Linked DNA regions of Homo sapiens: region 1 is linked to region 2. Evidence: promoter capture Hi-C in human tissues and cell types (Jung and others, 2019). All regions are on one chromosome and are shown on one strand. The core of a region is centred on a gene start or on the middle of the fragment in contact, and the rest is flanking DNA. Distances in the headings are between cores, read along the strand shown. Region 1 has its middle 4.9 kb from the start of MALAT1. Region 2 holds the start of CDC42BPG (CDC42 binding protein kinase gamma).

Region 1 (6,664 bases), core at 3,207-5,706, 650 kb before region 2:
GTTCTGGGGAATGGCATGGGGGCGGGGTGGCAGCTGGCCTGGGAACTTCTCGGTCGCTACTCTGCGCTGTCACTGCACTTGGGGGCTGGTCTTTCTTTCGTGGAGCTGCTGCCCAACTTCCATTTTCAGTCTAGGTCTTCCTTTCCCACCTCTCTCCTGTCCTTTGTCATTTCCTCCATATAGTCTCGACGTCATCCATTAATTTAAAATCAGAACACAAACCTCGTGTAGCTATCAAGGGCCATGGCATTATTGTAAAATATCTTCGTCGTTTGTATGTCACCAGGTCTTACTAGTCTAGAATTCTCGGGGCAGAAGTGGTCTCAGGCTGACCTTGCAGCAGCCTAATTTTTTAGAAAAGAAACTGAAGCAATGACCTAAAATGGAGAGTTCCAGGGCACACAAAGCTTGGAGCTGGACGGGGTGGTGACACCCACCCTCTCCGCTCCCTCACCCCCGGGTCTTTGGAACCTGTATCCATGGCTTGTTTTTAGGCAGTCAACTCCGAGGGGAGAGATTAGTGACGCTGTATAGGTTAGGATGGCAAAACTAACACAATGATACAGCAACTCTATGAAGTTGATTTCTAAAACTCCTTTGGCTCCTGTAAATGATGCAGGTTGTGTACGGTGTTGGGGAGCTGCCCTGGGGGCTCCAGGAAATGAGGGTCCTGTTTTCTGGGCCAACTCCCTGTCCCCACCTGCCCACATAAAGCAGGGCCTGTTGAAGCAGCTGTTCTCAATTGACGCTGGTGAAACTGTTCTTGTTTTCTTTTCTTTTCTTTTTTATTTTTAAGCCTGTAAGAGTGGAATATTACTGAGATGCAGCCGGATCCCTTCAGGCACAGTCCTGATGCTTGCTCTGGGGTTGGAAATTTTTTAGTAGAATTTTATCGCTGGATGAAGGAAAACTGAGGCAGGTCACCTCGTTTCGCAAATGGGGATTTGGGGGCCTGGAGATTTTGTGATTTGCCTGAAATGACACACAGCTAATTAATAGCAGAAGCTGTTCTTGAATCCCAGATTTTCCACGTCCTGCTGCCTCCCTTCCTCTCCAGCACTTCTGTCAGTCTCTCCAACTGCGGTTTTTCTATATCTGGGGGAGGACCTAGGACCTGCTCTGTACTCTCTGCTCTCTCCTTCACTCTAGAGCGAGTGAGATGAACGTTAAGAGCCCTAAAATGCTTTAAATTATTGTCAGTGTCACTGCATTAATTTCCATTACCTTGACAGATTACAGAATGTTTCTTTTTTTTTTTTTTTGAGACGAAGTCTCACTCTATCGCTGAGGCTGGAGTGCAGTGGCGGGATCTCGGCTCACCGTAACCTCCGCCTCCCTGGTTCAAGCAATTCACTTGCCTCAGCCTCCCGAGTAGCTGGTACTACAGGCGCCCGCCACCACGCCCGACTAATTTTTTGTAGTTTTAGCAGAGACAGGGTTTCACCGTGTTAACCAGGATGGTCTGGATCTCCTGACCTCGTGATCCGCCCGCCTCGGCCTCCCAAAGTGCTGGGATTACAGGCTTGAGCCACTGTGCCCAGCCGCCAGAATGTTGTACAGTCATCCCTTGGTATCCATGGGGCCTTGGTTCTAAAACCTCTCCTCGGATGCTAAAATCTGAAGATGCTCAAGTTCCTTATGTAACCTACAGATATCCTCCCATATCCCTTAAATCATCTCTAGTTTGCTTATAATACCTAATACAACGTAAATAATTTTTATATTGTATTAATGAGGGAGTAATAACAAGAAACGAAGTCTGTATATGTTCAATACAGATTCAATTTTTAAAAATTTTTCTTTTTTTTTTTTTTTTTTTTGAGATGGAGTTTCACTCTTGTAGCCCAGGCTGGAGTGCAATGGCGCGATCTCGGCTCACTGCAAGCTCCACCTCCCAGGTTCAAGCGATTCTCCTCCCTCAGCCTGCCGAGTAGCTGGGATTACAGGTACGCACCACCACGCCCGGCTAATTTTTTTTGTATTTTTAGTAGAGACAGGGTTTCACCATGTTGGTCAGGCTGGTCTCGAACTCCTGACCTCAGATGATCTGCCTCCCTTGGCCTCCCAAAGTGCTGGGATTACAGGTGTGACCCACCATGCCCGGCCTTTAAAAATATTTTTGATTCACAGTTGTTTGAATCCACAAATGTGAAAACCCATAAAGGGGCCAAGGCGGTTGGATCACATGAGGTCAGGAGTTCCAGACCAGCCTGTCCAACTTGGTAACACCCCGTCTCTACTAAAAATGCAAAAATCAGCCAGGTGTGGTGGCGTGCGCCTGTAATCCCAGCTACTCAGGAGGCTAAGGCACAAGAATCACTTGAACCCGGGAGGCAGCGGTTGTGGTGAGCCGAGATCGTGTCACTGCACTCCAGCCTGGGCGACAGAGCAAGACAACGTCTTTAAAAAAAAAAAAAAAAAAAAAAACTCTAAAAAATGAAATAATAAAAAAAGACAGCCTAAAATTGCCATGTACTTTAGTGAGGAGATTAATAATATATTTGATTATGTGGCCTTCTCAGCACTCTTGGAACTAAGGATCTTTTTAACATAACACTGAATTTTTTCAAGCACCTTTTCTCTGGACTGCGTCTGTGCTCCTTTTAATTTCATAATGTCTGATGGAAGCTGCCCCCTCCACTAGTCCTTTAATATCATGTTTGTTCCCTTTCACTTTAGTCTCAAACCTAGACTTCATTTGGGCCTAAGGACACAAATATAAGAGGGCAAATTTGTTTTAGCCAGTCATCTCATGCTCCCCTCAAAAAAGCCCAGGCTAAAAATAGAATGCCCTTGGTTCTGGTTTCTGGCAATTACTCCACTGACAAACAGCCCTGTGACCTCAGGCACCAACCCAAATAACTTCCCAGTAGCAACTGAGATATGTAAAATGAGAGGATTCCATGCAAGAAGCCATGATGCTGATTCTATAAAATACAGTAAACAAAGGGTTGGGGAGAGGACATGAAAGACTTTAGGCTGGAGCCGGGCGTGGTGGCTCATGCCTGTAATCCCAACACTTTGGGAGGCTGAGGCAGGCGGATCACCAGGTCAAGAGATCGAGACCACCCTGGCCAACATGGTGAAACCCCATCTCTACTAAAAATACAAAAATTAGCTGGGGTGTGGTGGAGGGCACCTGTAGTCCCAGCTACTCGGGAGACTGAGGCAAGAGAATCGCTTGAACCCGAGAGGCAGAGGTTGCAGTGAGCTGAGATGGTGCCACTGCACTCCAGCCTGGCAACAGAGCAAGACTGTCTGAAAAAAAAAGAAAAAGGAAAGATCTTAGGCCTCCTGGCTGTACCTTCGAGAAGGCGGGGTGCTGAAAAGGACTAAAAGGGCAAAAATTTTGCATCCAGCCTCCAAGCATACAGTCAGCAAGGCCCTACCTTAATCCTCCTGACTCAGGCCAGGCCGGAAACCTCCAGAGAATGCCAGAATCCACTCCACCCCTTCCCTGATTGGCAAGTCCAGTCAGGCTTAGTCAAGAGACAAGCTTCTGAGAGATCCGTCATCTACGGCCCTGGAGCCCAGAGGCCGCAGTGGCTGAGTCTTCATGGCACCTGGATTCCTCCCAGGCCTCCTTTGATTTTATCTAATCCTGTAATTTTTTCTTTAATTCTGCATTTCTAGAGCTCTCTAGAAATGCAGGTCAGAAATGAAGGGCAAAGACAGTCCCAAGAAAACAACTTTCTTGGTTTTTGTTTTTTTTTTTTTCCTTGAGACAGTTTTTTGCTCTTGTCACCCAGGCTAGAGTGCAGTGACGGGATCTCAGCTTACTGTAACCTCTGCCTTCCGGGTTCAGGTGATTCTCCTGCTTCAGCCTCCCAAGTAGCTGGGATTGCAAGTGCCTGCCACCATGCCCGGCTAGTTTTCATATTTTTAGTAGAGACAGGGTTTTACCATGTTGGCTAGGCTGGTCTGAAACTCCTGACCTTAAGTGATCCGCCTGTCTCTGCCTCCAAAAGTGCTGGGATTACAGGCATGAACCACCACACCCAGCCCAAACTTTCTTGTTTTCTAAAGATTTTAGGAATTTGCAGTTCCCAATCCCATCCCCTGGCTGCCCACCTTCCCAGAGCCGATTTCTGGAACAATGTGACCTTCCGTAGCTGCTGCACAAACTTAGGCTCCCTCACCTACTGTGACCGCCCCCACAGCAGGAAAAAACCTACAGAGATGATGCAGCTCAGAGCTCTATGATATGGAAGACAGAGCATTGTTTTCTAGGGGGTTTTGGACAGCTAATAATTTACCCTGTAGAACATGTAAAATTATCCCTTGAAACCCAGCAGACAGGCCTGTCACTTCACAGAGAGCTGAGGGCAATTCCAGCAAGAATGAGTTACAGAAACTAGAAGTGGCTGTGTCATTGACCTTCCCAAAATGATATGCGGAAGAGGCAGCTGGGGCCTCTTCCATCACAGCCCTGAATCACCAGGGCAGGAGGGTAGGGGAAACAGATTCTCTCTTCCTGAGACAAGAAAACATCTTCTAAATGTACCCACCTCTACTTCTAGCAAGCATTCCTTGTTAGATAGAATCCTCTTTCGGGGAGGGGAATAAAGGAGAAAGTGTCTTTTTTGTTGTTGTTGTTCTTTCTTAGGAGAAAGTGTCTTAAGAAAGCAATTCCCCACCCCCTGCCTGAGAGTTCCAGGCTCCTAGTTCCTTCCTTGGTCTATTTGCTGCGTAATGTACTTGGCCCTGGGCCCTGAAGCCTATTGGTGGATCCTCCCGAAAGGCCTGGCTGTGGCAGCCCAGCTGTAGCACTGTGGGCTGTAGGAGGACAGATTGACATCGAGGGGCACAACTGGGCTGTCCCCCATGCCTTCCTGGGGGCTGCGTCTGTAGAACCGTCTATCCACTCCATGTGCATCTTTATTTTCTGTAACGTGTATTGAGTGCTGTGCCTCACAACAGCCCTGTGGGGGAGGTGGTGTTGCTTTCCCCTTAGACGGATGAGGAAACTGAGGCAAAGAGCTGTCATTTGCCAGATCACTAGAGCCTGGCACACAGTAGAAGCTCCATGTGTGTCTACTGAGTAATGACTCAATGAATACATTGGAATAGTATCTTTTTTGGAATTTATAACACACACACACACACACACACACACAACCAGAATACTGAAAAGCTCCCACAGGAACAGATCATTCCACAGGAACAGATCATTCCACAGGAACAGAACGGATTTAGACTTGACGTAAATTCGAATGCCCATCAGGATGGAGTGGAATGGGACTGAGCTAGCTGTACTGCGTGGGAAACTGGGAACTGCTTTGCTCTGGAGGTCTGTTCAGAACTTCTGAACCAACTGCCATCCACAGAGACAGGGGAGAAAACCCAGAGGCCACCTGTGGTTTCCATGCAGCTCTGATGGAGCATTCACCCCTCTACCTCCTACCCGCCCCCTGCCCAGTGCAGGGTAGTGAGCCCGGCTCAGCCCTTGCTGTCCTTGCCCCATGATGAGTCACCGCGGGAGACGCCTGCTGAGTGAACCTTCCCAAGTGGCCTGAAGGAACAATGAAGCTCTCAGGGAGTCGCAGCCGCGTTCTTGTGTCCCTGATCTTTTCAGTCATGCTTCAGGTCCCTGGCAGATGTTTGTATTGGCCTGGCACACCCAGCATGAAGCTGATTAAACATCCTCCATGAGCATGCTCACACACACACACACACACACACACGTATATTCATTCTTCCTCATGCAAGTGTGGCCCACATCCCACAGACACACATCTCCTGGGACAAGGGGGTAGCGGCCACAAGGTTTCAGGCACTTTGTCGGGGTGTGTTTCTCAACAATGCCGGATTAAAACAGAAGCCCGCAGAATGACAGGGCCTTCTCCTGAACTGGTAATAGTGGATCAGAGCCACCCAGTGTTTGAGTGGAATAAACCTCTAGGTAGCAAGTTCCCATTCCCACAGGTATCCTCTGGAAGCTGGGTGACCTTCCTAGGGTTCCGCAGTATCCCTGCATTGCGAAGAAGCTGGTCAAGAAAACTTGAGATTTTTCTTCCAATCCTGAAAATCCATAATTCTAAGTAGCCCCTCATGCTACAATTGAAGAATCTAAGACTCAGAAAAGTTACATTCCCACAGCACTTTTTAGAGATGCAGGCAGATGGCCTCTGGGGCCCGGACATCTCCCTGAGTTAGCTGTAGGGACACTCACGCCCTGGCTGCCCATCCTGTGGGCTTTCTCCTGGAAGCTTATCCAAGGGGTCAGGCTGCATTCGGTCTAGCCATGAGGGGAACAGATTAGTACAGGAAGTGATACAACAGGAACAGGGCCCAGGAGAGACTGTGTTCTGGCTAGAAAATTCCAGAAGCCAGGCTGGGCGTGGTGGCTCACGCCTGTAACCCCAGCACTTTGGGAGGCCGAGGTGGGCAGGTCATTTGAGGTCAGGAATTCGAGACCAGCCTGACCAACATGGTGAAACCTCGTCTCTACTAAAATACAAAAATTAGCCGGGCATGGTGGTAGGCGCCTGTAATCCCAGCTACTCGGGAGGCTGAGGCAGGCAGGAGAATCGCTTGAACCCGGGAGGCGGAGGTTGCCATGAGCCGAGATTGCGCCACTGCCCTCCAGCCTGGGCGACAGTGAGCCTCCATCTCAACAACAACAACAAAAAGGATGTGTAGGATTTAATAGACTTTTATGAGG
Region 2 (6,947 bases), core at 1,670-4,169:
CGTGCAGCCCTGGCCTCAGCCCTGGGACTCAGTGTCCACTCAGCTATACTGTGTGGGGATGGACAGATGGCTGGGGATGAACCTTTCTGAGAACTTACCAGAGAGGTTAAGGGACTTGCCTGAGGTCACACAGGGAGTGAGGCAGGGCCCAGAGGCCTCACCAGGGGTGTCCACGAGGGGCAGCGGAGGAGAGGCCCATCTTCCCACCCAGGAGCCCTTCCCTATCTCCGGTTCCCTAATGCTGGCTGGAGCGCCTGTCCCTCCTCTGGTCTCTGGCGCCCCCGTGTGGCCTCAGTGAGCAAGCCCCTTCCTACCTCCTGTGGGCTCCACCCCTGCCCCGCCCCTATAAGGAGGGCTCAGAATCTCTCAGGTGAGAGGGATCTGAACTCCTGCCCCCTCCCCCTTCCAGGAGACCAGAGGCAATGAAGGGGATCCCCAGAGTTTGGTTTGAATCCTGGCTCCCCATCCCATTCTGGTTGATTTAGGTAATACACCCAGACTCTGTTTCCCCAAACATTTCTCAGCCCATGGGCCCTGCGTAGCTACAGGGCGGGCCTCTGGGGAGATCACATGGGAGGCAGGGCGAGTCTGAGACCAGCCCCGGGCAATGTAGAGAGACCCCAGCTCTAAAAAAAAAATTAAAAATTAACCAGGCGTGGTGGTGCAGGCTTGCGGTCCCAGCTACTCAGGAGGCTGAGGTGGGAGGATCACTTGAGCCCAGTATGTTGAGGCTGCAGTGAGCTGAGATTGCATCACTGCACTCCAGCCTGGGTGACAGAGCAAGACCCTGTCTCAAAAAAAGGCTGGGTATGGTGGCTCATGCCTGTAATCCCAGCACTTTGGGAGGCCGAGGTGGGCGGATCACCTGAGGTCAGACCAGCTTGGCCAACGTGGCAATATAGTGCAACCCTGTCTCTTTAAAATAAATAAATAAATAAACAAATAATCACATGAAAAACCCTTCGTGGGGAGAAACACCCTGTTTGCTTCAAACATTCATGGAACACCTCCTCCCTCAACCTGATCCTGCCCCCATCTCAGCGAGGTCCCAGTACGAGAGGAGAGGCAAACCCCTAAACAGGTCTTTTAATGAAATAATGTGTTGGCCAGTGGCTACAGCCTGTAATCCCAGCGCTTTGGGAGGCTGAGGCAGGCAGATCACTTGAGTCCAGGAGTTTGAGATCAGCCTAGGCAACATGGCGAAACCCCATCTCTATAAAAAATACAAACATGGCTGGGCCCAGTGACTCACGCATGTAATCCCAGCACTTTGGGAGGCCGAGGCAGAAGGATCACCTGAAGTCAGGAGTTTGAGATCAGCCTGGCCAACATGGCAAAACCCTATCTCTACTAAAAATACAAAAATTAGCTGGGTGTGGTGGCACATGCCTATAATCCCAGCTACTTGGGAGGCTGAGGCAGGAGACTCTCTTGAACCTGGGAGGCAGAGGTTGCAGTGAGCCGAGATCGTGCCACTGCACTCTGGCCTGGGTGACAGCGTGAGACACCATCTCAAAAAACAAAACATCAGCCTGGCCTAGTGGTGTGAGCCTGTAGTCTCAGCTATTCGGGAGGCTGAGGTGGGAGGATCACTTGAACCCAGGAGGTTGAGGCTGTGGTGAGCTACGATTGCACCACTGCACTCCAGCCTAGGGGACAGAGTGAGACCCTGTCTCAAAAAAGAGAAAGAAGTGTTGTCTAGGCCGGGTGTAGTTGCCCATGTCTGTAATCCCAGAACTCCGGGAGGCCAAGGTGGGAGGATTACCTGAGCCCAGGAGTTCGAGACCAGCCTGGTCAACATAACAATAACCCTTGACTCCAAAAAGTAAAATAAAAAATCAGCTGGGTGTGGTGGCATCTGCCTGTAATCCCAGCTACTCAAGAGGCTGAGGCAGGAGCCTAAGAGGTCAAGGCTGCAGTGAGTTATGATTGCATCACTGCACTCCAGCATGGGTGACAGAGAGACCCTGTCTCAAAAAAAAAAAAAAAAAAGTGTTGTCTGAAGCCACCAATATGTCCCACCCTTTGATCTCTCCTCATGGTGCCTGGTCCATCCCAGCTGGACAGAAATCAGAAATACCACTGGACAGAGCCAGCCCCTCCCCTCCCCAACCTCCTCCAGCCTATCTCAGACCTCTCCTTGCCCTTCACGTTCCAGGTCAGACCTCAGGCCCTGCTCCTACTGAAGCTTAAAACGCCTGTGGTGTTGGTACCAGCCCAGCTCCACCTCCACCCCAGGGTCTAACTTAAGAGCCACCTTGTCCTCAGCCCCTCAATTCGCCTTCCTCCTTCCCAAGCCTCAGTGTGTCCATCTGCCAAATGGGCGTGACCATCCCTACCCCAACTTCCTGTCTCCCACATCAACTCTAATGATACAATCAAAGTAAGATTCAGAAACTTTTTTTTGGGCGGGGGCGGGGGGGCGATGGGTGCCAAGCGCGGGCAAACCATGGAGAGAGCGAACTACAATTCCCATCCGGCTCCGGGGCCGCGGGCGTCCCTAGCCCCTCTCTCTTAGCCAAGGGCAAGGCGGCTGCGACCCAGGGGGCGAGAGAAGTTGCAGTGCTCCGCGCCTCCTGGGTCAGGGCCCAGGGAGGGCCCAGGTAAGTCTGGGTCTGGGGCCGCGCGGGGATCTGGGGAGTCTTTCCGACCCCGCAGAACCCCACCGCGCCCCGCGCAGAAGTCAGTTGTTCTCCCCGGCCCGCCCCCGCACTTCCTGGCCGGGAGTTGGGCCCGCCCCCGCGCGCCTCCGCCCCCACCTTCACCTCTAGCCGCGGCTCCCATTGGCCGGCGCGCACCTGCCCGTCCGTCGGGGGGCGGGGCGCGGCGCCCAGGTGAGGGCGCGCTGGCGGCGGCGGAGGAAGGTGACAGCGGGGAGGGCGGGAGAGGGGCGGGGGAGGACGCGCGGACAGAGCCTCAGACGGTTGGGCGGACGGACGGCCCGACAGGCGGGCATGCGGGCGGCCAGACTGTAGCCGAGCAGCGAGGCTCCGGCCGCAGCCATGGAGCGGCGGCTGCGCGCGCTGGAGCAGCTGGCGCGGGGCGAGGCCGGCGGCTGCCCGGGGCTCGACGGCCTCCTAGATCTGCTGCTGGCGCTGCACCACGAGCTCAGCAGCGGCCCCCTACGGCGGGAGCGCAGCGTGGCGCAGTTCCTGAGCTGGGGTGAGTGGCGGGGCGGCACGGAGCGGGGGCGGGCCTAGGGATATCGCGCCGAGACCCCCGCACCCGCAGACTTTCCCGCAGGGACCCGCACCCCCACGGGCTTCCCTCGCAGACTCCCTGCAGTGGCCCTGACGCGTACCACCGGACCCCCGCGGCCCGCACACTCGCCTGCACACCTCACCCTCACTCCAATTCTCACACACGCTCTCTCCCTCTCACAGACCCCGACACATGCACACACATACCAACTTGTGCTCAGGTATCGACCGCAGACGCATGTACCCAGTGCACCGCCTAGAGTCCCTTACAGATTTCCTTGCTTACAGGCCACACCTGACGCAGGACACACACAGACCCTCATGCATGTCACCCACTGATACACGGGCTCTGTTTCTCCTTCCTCTCGGATGCATTGAGACACACAACTCATGGAGAGACCCAGGGAGCGCTGCAGACCACCCCGACCGCATTGGCACTGCAAAACACACAGATCTGTAGGTATCGCACACTTGCAGACCTTCCCCCCACCAACACACACACCCCCAGCTCCCTGGGTACAAGACCACTGCAGCCTGGACTCAGGAACCGATCTCCAACCCTTGGCCTGTGCAGGCTGCTGGCCAAGCTCCTTGGGGGCTGTGGCGCCGGGGCCGGGGAGGGGGGCCTAGCTGGAGATGGGTCTGTACCTTTCCTGGTAGACTCATCTGAGTCATTGGGAGTGGCTGGCCCGGGGTGACCCTGAACCCACTGTGGGCACTGGCGCCAGCTGGAGGGTTCCCTGGTCACACCCTGCCGGGCCATGGGGAAAAGGCACGGGGGCCTGGCCAGGGCGGGGTGAGGCAGGTGTTTGCCCAGTGGGCAACTAGCGTTCCTGGCACTCCTGAGCTCTGGGAAGGCACAAGGCCTGGGGTAGAGGGGGAGGCTGCCACCTAGATGTGCCAGGGAGTTGTCCCCTAGCCCCAACCCTTCCATCCAGGGCGAGGCAGTCAGAGGCCCCTGCCTCTGTGCCTGTCTCCCTGGTATGCCTCCGTGCTATGCCTGTCTGCCTGTGTTGTTGTCACCCCCCCCATGACACCCACACACGTGTGTGTGTTTGCACACACATGTGTGCTCCTCCCTGACTGCCTCCAGCACCTCTGCCTGGGACCCCGGCATGGGGGCCCTCTGTTGACAATCTCCCAAGGTAACTCAAAGGGCTGTGACTCATTCCTCTCCTGCTTGTCTCTACTTGTCCCTGCTCCTGCCCGGAGCCCCCATGCCCTGTGGGAGGCCAGAGGATTAGGCAGCCTGTCCAGGGGCCTGGATCCTCCTGCCTGTGGGCCTGGGCTTCGGCCCTCTTCTGGCGGGTGGGTCCCTATGGTGCTGGCTTCAACTCCCACGGGGAGGCCCGGGGCTGCTCCTCCCCAGCTCCACACACAGACCTGGGAAAGAGACAATGAATTTCTGTAATGAGGTTTCCACCCCGCCCCCGCTGCGGGCTTCTGCCTGATAAACCTGTGGAACAGCTCTCTGTCCCACCCACAGACCCGCCCAGCTGGCAGGGAGTTTACCTCCTGGCAGGGGGAAACTGAGGCAGGGCGCCAGACCACAGCTGCCCCCCATCCTGACTGATCACTCCTGCCTCCCTAAGACCCAATTCCTTCCCAAAACCTGGGGCTAATCCAGGCCTGGAAAGTGCCTGGGAGTGGCTGGAGTTGCCCTTCCTGGAGGTATCTGGGATGTGAGGAAAGAGGACGTTCTTGACCAGACAAAAGCTTCGTCCAGACAGGGAGGCAGGGCTGGGAGTGAGAGAGCCGGTCAGGCCTGGAGGCATCCTGAGCACTCACGCCTTCAGGGGCTAGTGCTAGCACCAGGGAAAGGCATCTTTGTCCTGTTTGTGAGTCTCAGCACCTTGGCAGACTGGCATCCATGCCTCCAGCCTGAGGGGCCCCACGTGGGAAGCATAGAGCCTGTCCTCCCTGCCCTAGGGGCTGCAGGCCTCACCCCCAACCAGGCACCTCTATGCCTACAGGGTCCCGGGACCCAGGCCCACAGCTCCTGAATGGGAGAGAAGCCTCTCTGGGGATAAGGAATGTCACCCGTCCAGTTTCCTAAGACAGGCCCTGGCCTGAACCTGTGAGGGGGCCAAGAACTGTGAGGTGGGGGTAGGAATGGTGTCCCCATGGTCCCCAGGGTGACCTGGCCAAGCAGAGTCAGGCCGCAGACTGGGCAGGACTACAAGTCCCATCAGCCCCTGGGATGGAGGCTGCCTAGAGTCTGGGGCCAGGGGTCCAGGGAGGTCCAGGGACCAGGCGGTCAGCTGAGCCCGGCCTCTGACCTTCCGCACTTCCTGATCATGGCCAAAGGAGCACCAGTTCCTGCCACAACCCCTTGGCCCGAGGCTGTCCCTGGGGAGGTCATCCCTGCCTGGGCTCACAGGAGCGGCAGCTCCTGGCTTGCCCAAGGTGAGAGGGGGAATGGAGCCCTCCCTCCCTGCACTCTGAGTCCCGCCCTGTGTCCCCTCAGCCAGCCCCTTCGTATCAAAGGTGAAAGAACTGCGTCTGCAGAGAGATGACTTTGAGATCTTGAAGGTGATCGGCCGAGGAGCCTTTGGGGAGGTGAGCAAAGGGCCTGGGGTAGGTGGGGGGAGGTGTTCACACCGGGCTGGGCTCACCCCGGTCCTCCCTGTGGCCTTAGGTCACCGTGGTGAGGCAGAGGGACACTGGGCAGATTTTTGCCATGAAAATGCTGCACAAGTGGGAGATGCTGAAGAGGGCTGAGGTCAGTGTGGAGTCTGGGGGGCCCTTGGGCACCCTACAAATGGGTGTGGGGGAGGTGTATGCTGCCAGGGCCTATGGCGCGGGGGGGGCGGGCAAGGCTGCAGACCAGGCAAAGGGTGCCACCCTCAGCAGCCACTGATTTGTTATCTTTCTCACAATAAACCCTTTATTTAATTTTTTAAATTTTTTTTTTTTTTTTGAGACGGAATCTTGCTCTGTCAACTAGGCTGGAGTTCAACGGTGCTATCTTGGCTCACTGCAACCTCCGCCTCCCAGTTCAAGTAATTCTCCTGCCTCAGCCTCCCGAGTAGCTGGGATTACAGGCACCTGCCACCACACCCAGCTAATTTTTGTATTTTTAGTAGAGATGAGGTTTTGCTATGTTGGACAGGCTGGTCTCGAACTCCTGACCTCAGATGATCCTTCTGCCTTGGCCTCCCGAAGTGCTGGGATTACAGGCGTGAACCACCGTGCCCAGCCTACAATAAACTTTTTTTTTTAAGATAGAGTCTCACTCTGTCACCCAGGCTGGAGTGCGGTGGCGTGATCTCGGCTCACTGCAACCTCCACCTCCTGGGTGCAAGGGATTCTCATGCCTCAGCCTCCCAAGTAGCTGGGATTACAGGCGTGTGCCACGACACCCAGCTAAGTTTCTTGTATTTTTAGTAGAGATGGAGTTTCACCACATTGGCCAGGCTGGTCTCCAACTCTTGATCTCAAGTGATCTGCCTGCCTTGGCCTCCCAAAGTGCTGGGATTACAGGCCTAATAAACCCTTTTGAAAGCAAGCAGAGTCGTTCCCATTTTCCATATGGTCACACTGAGGCCCAGAGCTGTAGAGCGTGGGCTTGGGCTCAGTCGCAGCCAGACAGGGGACAGTAGAGCTATGACCTCCATCTGAGCTCCCAGACTCACAGAATCTTTCTCCATCCCCTGAGCTGGCAAGGGGGGCATCCTGGGCTCTGATCCCACCCCACCCCTTACTTCCCCAAACCTGCTGCAGACAGCCTGTTTCCGGGAGGAGCGG

What was found. Contacts are between HindIII fragments. The study calls those that stand out against the background at their distance.
Region 1: a contact is called between a fragment that was not itself captured here and the fragment with the promoter of CDC42BPG in region 2, in 1 of the 25 tissues and cell types used here (spleen).

What each region holds. Positions count from the first base shown.
Region 1 is chr11:65,490,814-65,497,477 of GRCh38, reverse strand. No RefSeq gene overlaps it. Among named protein-coding and RNA genes, the nearest start is that of MALAT1, 4.9 kb to the left of the region's middle. RefSeq lists enhancers at 3,326-3,620, 3,866-3,995, 3,487-3,998, 3,999-4,509, 5,346-5,640 and 5 more, a cis regulatory region at 3,345-3,587 and silencers at 3,326-3,620, 5,315-5,816. The HindIII fragment of the contact is 5,007 bases long and covers 1,953-6,664 here.
Region 2 is chr11:64,840,625-64,847,571 of GRCh38, reverse strand. CDC42BPG (CDC42 binding protein kinase gamma) reads left to right here and starts at 2,919. Exons shown (of 37, transcript NM_017525.3): 1 at 2,919-3,162; 2 at 5,668-5,759; 3 at 5,839-5,922; 4 at 6,924-6,947. The coding sequence starts at 3,003. RefSeq lists enhancers at 1-33, 3,444-4,256, 4,281-4,575, 5,069-5,881 and silencers at 334-423, 2,740-3,089, 3,100-3,149, 3,180-3,229. The HindIII fragment of the contact is 4,484 bases long and covers 1-3,552 here.